Linked DNA regions of Homo sapiens: region 2 is linked to region 1. The links are contacts of gene promoters, found by promoter capture Hi-C in blood cells and fetal thymus (Javierre and others, 2016). All regions are on one chromosome and are shown on one strand. The core of a region is centred on a gene start or on the middle of the fragment in contact, and the rest is flanking DNA. Distances in the headings are between cores, read along the strand shown.

What was found. The method cuts DNA at HindIII sites, captures the fragments that hold promoters and counts their contacts. A CHiCAGO score of 5 or more calls a contact.
Region 2: a contact is called between a fragment that was not itself captured here and the fragment with the promoter of CPNE9 in region 1, in 1 of 17 cell types (monocytes). The highest score is 7.1, in monocytes.

Annotation. Positions count from the first base shown.
Region 1 is chr3:9,701,594-9,707,639 of GRCh38, forward strand. It overlaps CPNE9 (copine family member 9), which reads left to right and starts at 2,240. Exons shown (of 21, transcript NM_153635.3): 1 at 2,240-2,471; 2 at 2,994-3,034; 3 at 3,156-3,202; 4 at 3,298-3,401; 5 at 3,871-3,907; 6 at 4,125-4,127; 7 at 4,394-4,470. The coding sequence starts at 2,404. It overlaps MTMR14 (myotubularin related protein 14), which reads left to right. Exons shown (of 19, transcript NM_001077525.3): 19 at 197-800. The coding sequence ends at 380. RefSeq lists an enhancer at 1,879-2,789. The HindIII fragment of the contact is 18,760 bases long and covers 1,523-6,046 here.
Region 2 is chr3:9,974,758-9,981,603 of GRCh38, forward strand. EMC3 (ER membrane protein complex subunit 3) reads right to left here. Exons shown (of 8, transcript NM_001394674.1): 2 at 2,632-2,689; 3 at 2,200-2,293. Among named protein-coding and RNA genes, the nearest start is that of EMC3, 8.7 kb to the right of the region's middle. RefSeq lists an enhancer at 1,672-2,871. The HindIII fragment of the contact is 2,506 bases long and covers 4,297-6,802 here.

The sequences.
Region 1 (6,046 bases), core at 990-3,489:
TAGAGGAATGGTTTAAGGGAAAACAGGGCCAGATATTTGGGGCCTGAACCACAAGGATAGCATGGCCGTAGGACAGACACTGGCCTTGTACAGTCAGAAGAAGCACAAGGACAGGTGGTATGGAGGGAGGGAGGATGAGGATACTGGGTCCTGTCCCAGGGTAATGTCTTTGTTCTTTCTCTTGACCTCCCCATAGGCTTGCAGCCCTGAGTGATCGAGAGACTCGGCTGCAGGAGGTGCGCTCAGCCTTCTTGGCTGCGTACAGCAGCACAGTGGGGCTTCGGGCAGTAGCCCCCAGTCCTTCCGGTGCCATCGGGGGCCTGCTGGAGCAATTTGCCCGTGGTGTTGGACTCCGGAGCATCAGCAGCAATGCCTTGTGAAGAAGCCAGCCCATGACATTTTCCTGCTCCTCTCTCAGCTGAGCCCTTAGCAGAGAATCAAAGCCATGCCTGGCCGAAGGGGTACTTCCAGGTCAGGGGAAATTTCAGTCCCCCATCTCCATCATGAACATGGCAGCCCCAAAGCTGAGCAAGGCCAAAGACAGGGTTTTCCAACCCCCAGCCTCTTGACTGGTGACCACCACCCCTTCTTGTCACTGTCTCCCACCCACCCCATCTTTGCTGGGATTCCCATCAACTCTCAGAACTGTGTGGGGTTTCCCTGGGGCCTTGTGGAAGCCATGACTTCACAAAGACCCTACCTGTCAGTTCTTGTTTCTGGGGAGGAGGGATCACCTGCACTGAGAATGAGGCAGTTTGACACAGATCACAAAATAAAATCAAAGTCTTTTTGAATAGCCACTCTTGTGTCATCATTTGGTTATTGTCTTTGTGGAGCTACTAGGAAGGTTCTCATTGTCCTTCCTTGTGCTGGACAAGGGGTTTTTATGTGGAGGGCAGGTGAAACAGGAAGAGAACTGGCGACAGGTATACCTCTCCACTCATGAGCCATGGTAGTCCCTGCAGTGGGGACAACACTCAAGACTGTTGAGAGTAGTGGTTCTCGGGCCTAAGCAGGTCCTAGTCACCTAGAGAGCCTGATGAGCTGTGCACATTCCCAGGGCTGCCTGAGCTTTAGCCTTAGGGTTGCTAAGGAAGTTGCCTGGGAATTAGGAGCTGGAGGATCTTCATTTTTTTCAGATTTTTTGAGATGGAGTCTCACTGTTACCCAAGCTGGAGTGCAATGGCACAATCTTGGCTCACTGCAACCCCTGCCTCCTGGGTTCAAGCGATCCTCCTGCCTCAGTCTCCTGAGTAGCTACGTGAACGTGCCACCATCCCCAGCTAATTTTTGTATTTAGTAGAGATGGGGTTTCACCATGTTGGCCAGGCCAGTCTCAAACTCCTGAGCTCAAGTGATCTGCCTGCCTTGGCCTCCTAAAGTGCTGGGATTACAGGCATGAGCCACCGTACCTGACCAGGATCTTCATCTTTAACAAGTTCTGTAGGCAGCAGGGTCCTGGTACGGGTGACCTGCATCCCCTACCTTGAGCCCTGCCTATGGAGGAAGGACTGGCTTCTGAAGCTTTGGAGATAGCAATTGGTGTGCATGTGTGGTGGGTGAGAGCCTGGCTGACCACCACCCTCTTCTACAGTGTAACCTACAGTAGATTGCGTCATGAGAGTGTGTCCGCATCTGTAACGCCATGAAAGTCGTGAGGGTTAAAGGCATGGGCAGACAGCTTTGCACGGTGCTCAACAGCCACCATTTACTGTCATCATTGTGAATACCCAGAGGACAAATCATAAATACCAGTGAATGTTTACTGAGCACTTGCTGTGTGCTAAGTGTTTTCCTTGGGTTATCTCAGTAAAATTTTACAGCACCTAAAGTAGCTGCTGTTAAAGGCCTTTCTGACGGCCTTTCACGGTTGAGCCACAGAGATGTTGAGTAACTTGTCCAAGGTCACACAGCTACTAAGAGATGTACTTTTCCTATTCAGAGACCTAGGCAGGCTGGGAGTGGGAAAAGACAGAAACACTAAGGGAGTGGCTCAGTAAGAGGCAACAATTCCAGTGCCCACCAGGTGCCCCAAATGTTTCAGCATCATGGACAACTCTAGGGGGCTTGGGTTTCCACCCCAGAGACTTGCGCAGGGCAGACTCTACCAAGGTGTGGGTTGGAGTTGGGAGTCGGGGTGAGGTTCCCCGCTGGCTCCAGGCTGCTCCAATGGGGCGGGGGCCGCCCGCAGGGCCGGGCGGGGCTGTGCTGCCATCTGGAGCCGCTGCCGCCGGCGGCCACTGTCAGGGCGCGAGCGGCTGGAGCGCACGCAGGGCTGGAGCGAGTGCAGCCGCCGCCGCCGCCGACACCGCGGCACATGGGCCGGCCCCGCCGCTGCCGTCGCCCCTAGCCCCAGCAGCCCTGGTCTCGCAGCCTCCTGCGGCTCTGGTCGCCCGACCAGCCATGTCTCTCGGCGGAGCCTCCGAGCGCAGCGTCCCGGCCACCAAGATTGAAATTACCGTGTCCTGCCGGTGAGCGGGCCGCGCTGGGGAGGGCTTAGGCACTGGCACTGCCCCAGCCCCAGCCAGCCGCGGGGCTCAGCCTGGGCAGGGGCTAGACCCCCGGGGAGAGGCGAAATTGGCTGGAAAATCACAGCTGATGACAGGGCGAGTAGCTGGTGGGATCGAGAAGCGGGGGGTCTTGGGCAGCCCCACCCCGAAAAAAGGGCTCAGCCTGCGGGTTCAGGGGGTGGGTCGCAGATATCCGGTAGGAGCTCGGCCCCAGGAGGACAAAGTTCTGGGGCGAGCCCTCTTTCCTGGGCCCTTGGAGACAGTGTGGGTGCGTTCGCGTCCAGTCCGCAGAGCCATGGTTCCTGGACAGCGATTTCCGGTGCTGTCCAGAGTGCTGACAGAGCGGACCCCGGCTGGGGGTAGCCATGGGGGACAGAGGTTCGATGCGGGCCCCATGCCTCTCCTCAGTGCCCGGCTCAGAGCCGACTCGAGGCGGGCGGACTCCAGGATGATCCACTCTGTCTGTCTGTTGCTTTTCTCTAGGAACCTGCTAGACCTTGATACCTTCTCCAAGTCCGACCCCAGTAGGCGGCTCCAGGACCGGGAGGGGGAACTTGGGGTCTGGGCGCGACTCAGGGGCGGGTGGAGTCGGGGCCAGGGGTGGGAGCCGACCTGACGTCCTTCCCTCCCCGCCCCCACCTGCAGTGGTGGTGCTTTACACGCAGAGCCGGGCCAGCCAGGAGTGGCGGGAGGTGAGTCCCAGAGCCCCCTCCCGGCCCAGGGCGTCGCCCGGGAATTCCCCTGCCCGTCTGCACGTCCCACGCTGACCCTCCACCCCCCTACCCAGTTCGGACGGACCGAGGTGATTGATAACACGCTGAACCCAGACTTCGTGCGCAAATTCGTCCTCGACTATTTCTTTGAGGAAAAGCAAAATCTGCGCTTCGATGTGTGAGGCCCCGCCTGGAATTCTGGCTTGGCCCGCCCCCGACCTGGATCCGCCCGGAATTCTGGCTGGCCCCACCCCCGCCTCGCCTCCGGCCTGGTTCTTCTCGCAGGCCTCCCTCCCATTCTGAATGGCCCCCTCTAGCCTGAGCCCTGCCCTTTTATGAGATGCGGTCCAGTTCCGTCCCCCGCTCTGGCCCCGCCCACAACTCTGCTCCTATCGCAGCTCCACCTCAGGCCCGACCCCTTCCACACAACCCTGCCCCCAGCAGCCCCTGACTTGGCCTCGGCCCAGGCTTGACCGTCTGACTACTCAGCCCACCCTGACTCCTCCCCAAAAGGAGACCAAAGCTGAATTCGGGTCCACGGCCGCCCATCCCTCCACCCAAAATTTTCACCAAGACTCGGTGCCCGACCCCTTTCCACCCTCTCCCCCACCCAGCCCCACCCCACACCGGTTCCACTCTTTTCCCAGGTACAACGTGGACTCCAAAACCAACATCTCCAAACCGGTGAGCAAACGTTTCCTCGAGGGTTGGCGGAGCGCACAGGAGGCACTTAGATGTGTTCAACGACTCTCAGAACTCCTCCCAACCCTCGACCCAGACCCCATCTTCTTCAGGCCCCCAACCCACCCTCCTGGTCCCTCTCCTCCTGCCTGAGTGTCCTGCCTGTGCCCCCTACTCACTGTTCCTCTTCCTTCTTGGCTGCCACTGCTGGGACCTGCAGAAGGTGAGGCTGAATGGGGCTGGGCAGAGGTTGGGGGTGGGGGTGGTATTGTGGAGAACAGGCTTGGACTGATGACCCACTACAAGGCAGAGATTGCTCGCAGACCCCTTCTTTCACACCCCCTCCATTAAAGCCCATGTAGGGCCGTGGCTCTTGCACCACTCATTCGCCTGGGAACTGCCCTGGTCCTGTGCAGGAGCATCACTGGGGCTAGGCTGGGACTCAGCACTCAAGAGCTTCTGGTCTTGCTGACTCCTTGTCCTGCATAGGATTTCCTGGGACAAGCGTTCCTGGCCCTGGGAGAGGTGATTGGAGGCCAGGGCAGCCGAGTAGAGCGAACCCTCACGTAAGCTGAATAGGAAGGGGTGTGGGAGTGGGGTGGGGGCTTCCAAATTCTCCCTCCCAAGGATGCCGCTGACTGATAGAAGTGGAGGCTGGGGTTGCCCCTGGTCAGGAGCCTGCCCCGGCTCCCATCACCCTCGTAGAAAAGTCCAATTTCCAGTGCTCTGCCCGAGTCAGTATCAGGCCTGATATGTCTTTTCTTTTCTTTTTTTTTTTTCTCTCTCTCTCTCTGTTTCTCTCTCTCTCTCCTCACTCTTTTTCTAAGTCTGATTCAGCCTTTAAGGTCCACTTCCAAGCCCCTCTCCACAGGGAAGCTCCCCCGGACTAAGTCAAATCCTCAGGAATTACCATTACATCCACTCACTAAATATGCATTAGCATGTTTTATATCCCACACCCTGTTCTAGGCACCAGGGCTTCATTCATTCCACAAACACTATGTATACATACCCTATGTCAGCCACTGTTAAAGGGGATTAGCTTGCAATGGTGAACAAAACAAAGGTTCTTGTCCTCAGGGGGCTGATACTCTAGTTGTGTGGGGAGGACAGTACAAAATAGACATAAGTAAATTACATAATAGATTAGACAATATTAAGTGCTATGGGGAAAGAGACGAAGTAGAGCAGAATCAACGGAACTGGAAATAATGGGTGAGTGGGAGGTGCAGGATTCAACAGTGCGGTTGAGCAGGCCTCACGGACAGGTAACTTTGGAGCAACAACCTGAGGGAGGTAAGGTACAGACATGTGGAGGAAGAATGTTCCAGGCAGAGGAGACTGCCAGTGCAAAAGCCTGGTGCATTCAAAGAACAGCAAGGAGGCCAGCAAGACTGGAGCCAGGTGACTGGGAGGCAGGAGGAAGTGAGGTTGAAGAGCTAACAGGGCCTTGCAGCGGACTTCCACCTTTCCTCTGAAACGGGAGTCACTGGAGGGTTCTGAGCGGAGGAGTGACATGACATGGCGGCTTACAAAAGATGGTGCTAGCTGTGGGGTTAAGAATAAACCTTGGGGGCCAGGCGCGGTGGCTCACACCTGTAATCCCAGCACTTTGGGAGGCTGAGGCAGGCGGATCACGAGGTCAGGAGATCGAGACCATCCTGGCTAACACGGTGAAACCCTGTCTCTACTAAAAATACAAAAACTTAGCTAGGCATGGTGGTGGGTGCCTGTAGTCCCAGCTGCTTGGGAGGCTGAGGGAGGAGAATGGCGTGAACCTGGGAGGTGGAGCTTGCAGTGAGCTGAGATTGTGCCACTGCACTCCAGCCTGGGCAACAGAGCGAGATTCTGTCTCAAAAAAAAAAAAAAAAAAAAAAAGAATAAACCTTGGGTGGCCAAAGGTAGAAGCAGAGAGCCAATGAGAAGACTCTGACAGTAATCCAGGATGCTACCAGTGAAGGAGGGGAGAAGTGGTCAGATTCAGGATATATTTTAAAGGTGGAGCTAACAGGTTCCTGACAGATTGAATATGAATGTGAGAGGAAAAGAGGAGTTGAGGACAACACCAAGATCTTTGGCTTGAACAACAGGAAAGATGGAATTGACACAAACTGAGATAGTAGGGAAAAAAACAAAGGAAAG
Region 2 (6,846 bases), core at 4,300-6,799, 280 kb after region 1:
CCGTGTCAGCCAGGATGGTCTTGATCTCCTGAACTCGTGATCCGCCTGCTTCGGCCTCCCAAAGTGCTGGGATTACAGGCGGGAGCCACCGCACCCAGCGTTTTTTTTTTTTTTTTTTTTTGAGATGGAGTCTCACTCTATCGCCCAGGCTGGAGTGCAGTGGCATGATCTCAGCTCACTGCAACCTCCGCCTCCCAGGTTCAAGTGATTCTCTTGCCTCAGCCTCCTAAGTAGCTGGGATTACAGGCACACACTACAATGCCCAGCTAATTTTTGTATTTTCAGTAGAGACGGGGTTTCACCATGTCGGCCAGGCTGGTCTTGAACTCGTGACTGACCTCAAGTGATCTGCCTGCCTCGGTCTCCCAAAGTGCTGGGATTACAGGCGTCAGCCACCGTACCCAGTCTCAATATTTTTAATGTCTGCATAGGATTCCATGGTGTGGTCACACCAATCACTTTTGAGTAGACCTATCGATTGTTTCCATTGTTTTTGCCAATAAACGATAAATGATGCTGCCGACAATTATCTTGCACATACATCTGCATGTTTATGTGTTTCCGTAAGAGAATTTCTTAGAATTTCTAGGTCCAAGGATTTGTACATTTAAAATTGATAGATATTGTCAGACTGTCAGCAAGGCCCCACCTCTTGCCACTCCCGCCAATGGTGAGGGAGCCTAACTTCCTCGACCTTGACAATAGTGGATCCTGACAATCTTTTCAATCTTTTGACAGCTTACTGGGCTAAAAAAAAAAAAAAGAGATATCTTGGCCAGGCACGGTGGCTCACACCTGTAATCCCAGCACTTTGGGAGGCCAAGGCGGGCGGATCACGAGGTCAGGAGATGGAGACCATCCTGGCTAACACAATGAAACCCCGTCTCTATTAAAAATACAAAAAATTAGCCGGGCATGGTGGCAGGTGCCTGTAATCTCAGCTACTCTGGAGGCTGAGGCAGGAGAATCGCGTGAACCCGGGAGGCGGAGCCTGCAGTGAGCCGAGATCGCACCACTGCACTCCAGCCTGGGTGAGAGAGCGAGACTCCTTTCTGAAGAAAAAAAAAAAAAAAAAAAAAGATATCTTGTTTTAATTGATATTCCATGGATTATTAGTGAGGTCAAGTAACTTTTCATATATTTAATGGTCTTTTGTTTCTTGTAAATTTTCTTAAAAATTTGTTAAAAAATTAACTCCATACAACCTTAGTCACTCTCAAAAAAAATTAATTATAATACCTTCCGTATGGGTTTAAAATAGCTGGTTATCTCACCTAAAGAAGTGAATAGTACTAAAATGAGAGGAGTCAACACAGAACAACAAATTACTTTGTTTTACTTTTAGTTATTTTTATTTTTATTTTTCGGAGATGGAGTCTTGCTCTGTCGCCCAGGCTGGAGTGCAGTGACGTGACCTCAGCTCACTGCAACCTCCACCTCCCAGGTTCAAGCAATTTCCTGCCTCAGCCTCCGGGGTAGCTGGGACTACAGGCACCCACCACCACGCTAGGCTAATTTTTGTATTTTTAGTAGAGACGGGGTTTCATCATGTAAACCAGGCTGGTTTGAACTCCTGACCTCAGGCAATCAATCCACCTGACTCAGCCTCCCAAAATGCAAGGATTATAGGCGTGAGCCACCACACCTGGCCTGTTTTACTTTTAACATGCTATATTTTTCACATGACTGGTATCAGTGGAAGTAGAAAATGTTAGAGCCAAAACTGTAGGGTAGACCAAACAATCACGTCTAACAACAAAGTCAACAAAATGGCACATCTTGGAAGTACTGCACTCTTCCTCATTTAGGCAGAAGCTGGGCAGCCATCTATTGGAAGGGGATCCAGGCACTGGGTGACAGCCAGGCTGGAATGCTTTACCAACTGTGCTCCCTAGAATCCTGGGTCCTGAGAACAGCAATAAGGAGAGACCCAGGGACAATAGCTCTGGCCTCCCCACTCCATCAGCTGAGAACTATTTTTTTTAATCCACTTTATACATTGGGGTTCTCAGAAAATCTAACTGAAAAAGAGAATTCCACTTCCATAGATCCCTGTATCAGATGATTTCTAAGGTCTAAGATTACTATCTTTTGCAATTTAACATTTAAATAAAATGACACCCTCCCTGCCTACCCCACCCCACTCAAATACCCATGTTAAAAATCTTCCTTAAAGATGAGTGAAGGGAACAAACATACCAGTCATAGGAGAAGGTGGCACTACCTTCCGTTTAGTTTTTTTGAAAAATCCATCCTCTGGGTTGTTGAAATAATATTTTCGTGTCAAGAAAGACTAGTAAAAAAAAAAAAAAGTGTTTTAAGTCTAAGAACTATGACACAGCAAACTGTTAAATTACTCCCCAGTGGCTTAGTCAGAAGGCCTTTAGGATATGCTGTTCCGCTCAGAGCTGTCAGCCTACTTGGCAGGCGACCTGACACTTTAGCTGAGTCACATTTAAAAACAATTTCCTAAGAAGGGTGAGGTCACCATGAGAGCAAACACCACCAGGCCACAGCTTAATTACTAAGTTGCCAACCTTTAGCTTTCCCCAGAGCCCCCTTATAAAACATTCAGATATCTACTGCCCAACAGTGAATCGTGGAGCTTTTTAATAAAAGATAAATGAGTACCTGTTTGGGAATGTATTTTCCATTTTCCCTGAGGACTCTGCTTCGAATTAGGACTTGACTGAAAAATACAACCAACACAATGAGATTTTAAAAAGTGAAACACTAGAAGAAAATGGGAGAGTCAAGTAGAAGACCTATTTAAACACAAGAGAGGGCCTATTTGGCAACAGCTCTGTGTGGAAACTTCCCAAAATACAAGTATCTTTAAAACCAACGTAAACTTATTTAACCTAACTACTAGGTTTTCAGAAAAGTATTTTTCAAAAGTGACTGTGTTTCTGAACACATAAATATTTCAGAGTTAGGTACATTTGGGACATTACACTCAGCTTTTTCTTATTTGATAATAAGCTAGGAAGACACTTTCTCTGAGTGAAAAGAATAGTTGAACACTGCTCAGGAGATCTGGGGTCAGGAGAAAGGGAGAAGAGTGAGGATAAAAGAAGGAATTTCTTATTACCTACAGAGAAATGAGAACAGGCCTTGAGAGGGTTGCTATCTGATGGACAAATAGAAAATCTACCCAGAAGTCAGACTGTTAGAAAGCTCTCAGTAAACATTTATTGAATAAATAAATGAAATTACTAGGTGATCTTAAATCAACTATTAGAGCCATAGTTGATCAATAAATATCATGCTAGGCCAGGTGCAGTGGCTCACGCCTCTAATCCCAGCAATTTGGAAGGCAAAGGCAGGTGGATCACTTAAGCCCAGGAGTCTGAGACTAGCCTGGGCAACATAGCAAGACCCTGTCTCTAAAAAAAAAAAAAAAAAAAAAAAAAAAAAAAAAAAAAAAAATTAGCCAGGCTGGTGGCACGTGCCTGTAGTCCCAGCTACTCAGGAGGCTGCAGTAGAAGGATCACCTGAGCCCAAGAGGCAGAGGTTGCAATGAGCTGAGATGGCGCCACTGCTCTCCAGCCTGGGCAACAGTTAAGACCCTGTCTCTAACAACAAAAAAAGAATACAGTGTTATGCAACAAATGGGTGTTGCTAAGATGCAAATGACAAAACAGAGATCAAAATATTAATTTTTTTCTAGGTACTCAAAAGTTCATTAAAGGAGGAAAAGAGGAAAAGGCCCTTAAAGTAATGGAAATAGTCTTGAAACGTGAAAAAAAATTATGAACAGAAATGAACATAGTAAAACCTGTGCTTGGTAGGGGCCAGGCGCAGTGGCTCACATCTGTAATCCCAGCACTTTGGGAGGCCGAGGTGGGCGGATCACGAGGTCAGGAGTTTGAGACCAGCCTTGCCAACATGATGAAACCCTGTCTCTACTAAAAATATAAAAATTAGCCGGGTGTGGTGGCCTGTGCCTGTAATCCCAGCTACTCAGGAGGCTGAGGTAGGAGAATCACTTGAACCAGGAAGGTAGGGGGTTGCAGTGAGCCGAGACGACGCCATTGCACTCCAGCCTGGGGTGGGACTCCATCTCAAAAAAACAACAACAACAAAAAACAAACAAACAAACAAAAAAACTGTGCTTGGCTTCCTGTCTCTACTCAATACAAACCACTTGTTTTAAACAGTCAGTACCCCGGGGTTTCCCCTGTCACACTACACATATTCTAGTTTCTCCACATGCTGGGAATGTTCCAGTGCCCTTTCCTTTCCGAGTTCTACTCCATCATGCCTTAACATCTTCAAGTCTCAGCATCTCCACGAAGCTTTTCCCAATGCCTGGAGCCCTCGTGGAATTCTCTCTGCTTCCTCCTCCTGAGCTCATTATGCTATACAGTTCTCTACTTTATCTACAGGGCGCAACATGTAATACATTCTGCTCCCTGGATGCTAGTCTAAAGATACTCAAAGTGTGGTGAATGCTAGTCTGTGATAAGCACAGACACTGAGAGTAAGGATTTAGAGACTTTTATAATAATTTGACATTGTCACAACATCCAGATACATGATCAAAATATTTTACAAAAGTATTAGCCTATAAGAGATTAGAAATTTAAAAAACAAAAAACCCCAAAACTGGTCCTTCACCATTGACAGTATAAGAAGCACTGGGTCTAGAGTAATGGGTAAAAACTTAAGCTCTGGAGTTGAACACATGGGTTCAATCCCACCTCTGCCACTTATTAGCCATGTGATCTTGAGCAAGTCACTTAAATTCCCTAAGTCTCTATTCATATTCTGTACAAGGGTAGATTTATTCTTTCATTGAACAAATATTTCTTGAACTTCTAAGTGCCAGGTGACATGAAGAACGGTGATCAAAATACAAATATCTTACGATGGTCAAAGTCTAGTGAGGGGGAAAGACATTAACCAAATAACCAGAGGAATAAATGTGAAATTCAATTATCATGTCCTAGAGAGAGATGGATGGTATTGCAAGAGTGCATAACCAGGAGGTGATGGAGTCTGGAAAGTCAAGGTCTGAGAGTTTGCTGAGGATGTAGGATTAAGCTGGACTCTTCAGGATGAGTGAGGATTACCTTGGCAAAGTGCTGGTGTAAACAAAATGGGCAAAAGCCTCGTAGAAGTAAACACTCTGCCTCTGAGGACCTGAGAAAAGGCCACATGACTGGAAAAAGGAGAACTATAGAAAATGTGATGAAAACAAGACTTGAGAGGTGTGCAAGAGCCAGACTATACAAAATCATGTGGTCTCACTGTATTTTTTTTTTTTTTTTTGAGATGGAATCTCACTCTGTCTCCCAGGCTGAACTGCAATGGCGCAATCCCAGCTCAGTGCAACCTCTGCCTCACGAGTTCAAGCAATTCTCCCGCCTCAGCCTTCAGAGTAGCTGGGGTTACAGGCGCGCACCACCATGCCCAGCTAATTTTTGTATTTTTAGTAGAGATGGGGTTTCACCATGTTGGCCAGGCTGGTCTCGAATTCCTGACATCAGATGATCCGCCTGCCTCAGCCTCTCAAAGTGCTGGGATTACAGGCATGAAAAACCATGCCCAGCCAGGTCCCACTGTATTTTGATCACTGTCTTAAGAGCAAAAGGAAACTAATGAAGGATTTTTTTTTTTTTTTGAGACAGGGTCTTACTCTGTTGTCCAGGCTGGAGTGCAGTGGTACAATCTTGGCTCATGGCAACCTTGACCTCTGGAGCTCAAGTGATCCTCCCATCTTAGTCTCCCGAGTAGCTAGGACTACAGGCACACACCATGACACCTGGCAAACTTTTGTGTTTTGTTTTTTTTGTTTTTTTTTTTTTTGTAGAGACAGGGTCTCACTATGCTGCCCAGGCTGGTCTCTAACTCCTGGACTCTAGTGATCCACTTGCCTCAGCCTCCCAAAGTGCTGGGATTACAGGCGTGAGCCACCACACCCAGCCAAGTGGAGAATTTTAGGCTGAGTTCTTCACATATATGATCTTATATGACTGTACCTGGCACATCCTAAGCACTAGATTAATAGTATCTGTTATTTTTTCCTTTGCATATTTTATTACTTGAACAGAAACTCTGAGAGCAGGGTCGTGACCTTGTCTTACACTGTACCCCACAGCATGCAGCAGAGTGCAAGGCACATGATAGGCCATCAAAAGGCCATTGTTCACAGCCAGGCGTGGTGGCTCTCGCCTGTAATCTCAATACTTTGGGAGGCTGAGGTGGGAGGATTGCTTGAGCCCTGGAGCCCTGGAGTTCAAGAACAGCCTAGTCAACATAATGAGACCACTGTCTCCACAAAAAAATTTAAACATTAGCCAGGTGCAGTGGCGTGTGCCTGTAGTCCCAGCTACTCGGGAGGCTGTGGGAGGATCACTTGAGCCCGGGAGATCGAGGCTGAAGTGAGCCATGATCGCACCACTGCGATCGCAGCCTCAATCACTGCAGCCTCAACCTCTTTAGTCCAGCCTGGGTGACAAAGCAAGACCCTGTCCCCAGAAAAACAAACGAAAAAACACTTGTCCAGTCTACGATAACTCAAGACTTTCCCAGGCAGTGTAATCAAGAGAAATTCATCTAAATCTCCTACAATTACACTGCTGAACAATTTTGTAAAAATGAAGTTGAGTATTGTGACCCTGAGGTATTTCAAGACCTAAATAAGCAATCTTAAATTATCCTGTATTTTCTAACACTCACTTTCTTAAGCTGAGATCCATAGCTGTGTTCTCTGAAGTTTGCAAATTCTAAAAGAAATTTTTAATTTTGTATTTTTATTTTCATGAATATCTAAAAATAAGTCTCTGTACTGTTATAAAGCTTTGTAATTTGCAACTGAAGGACATCTTTTATTTATTTATT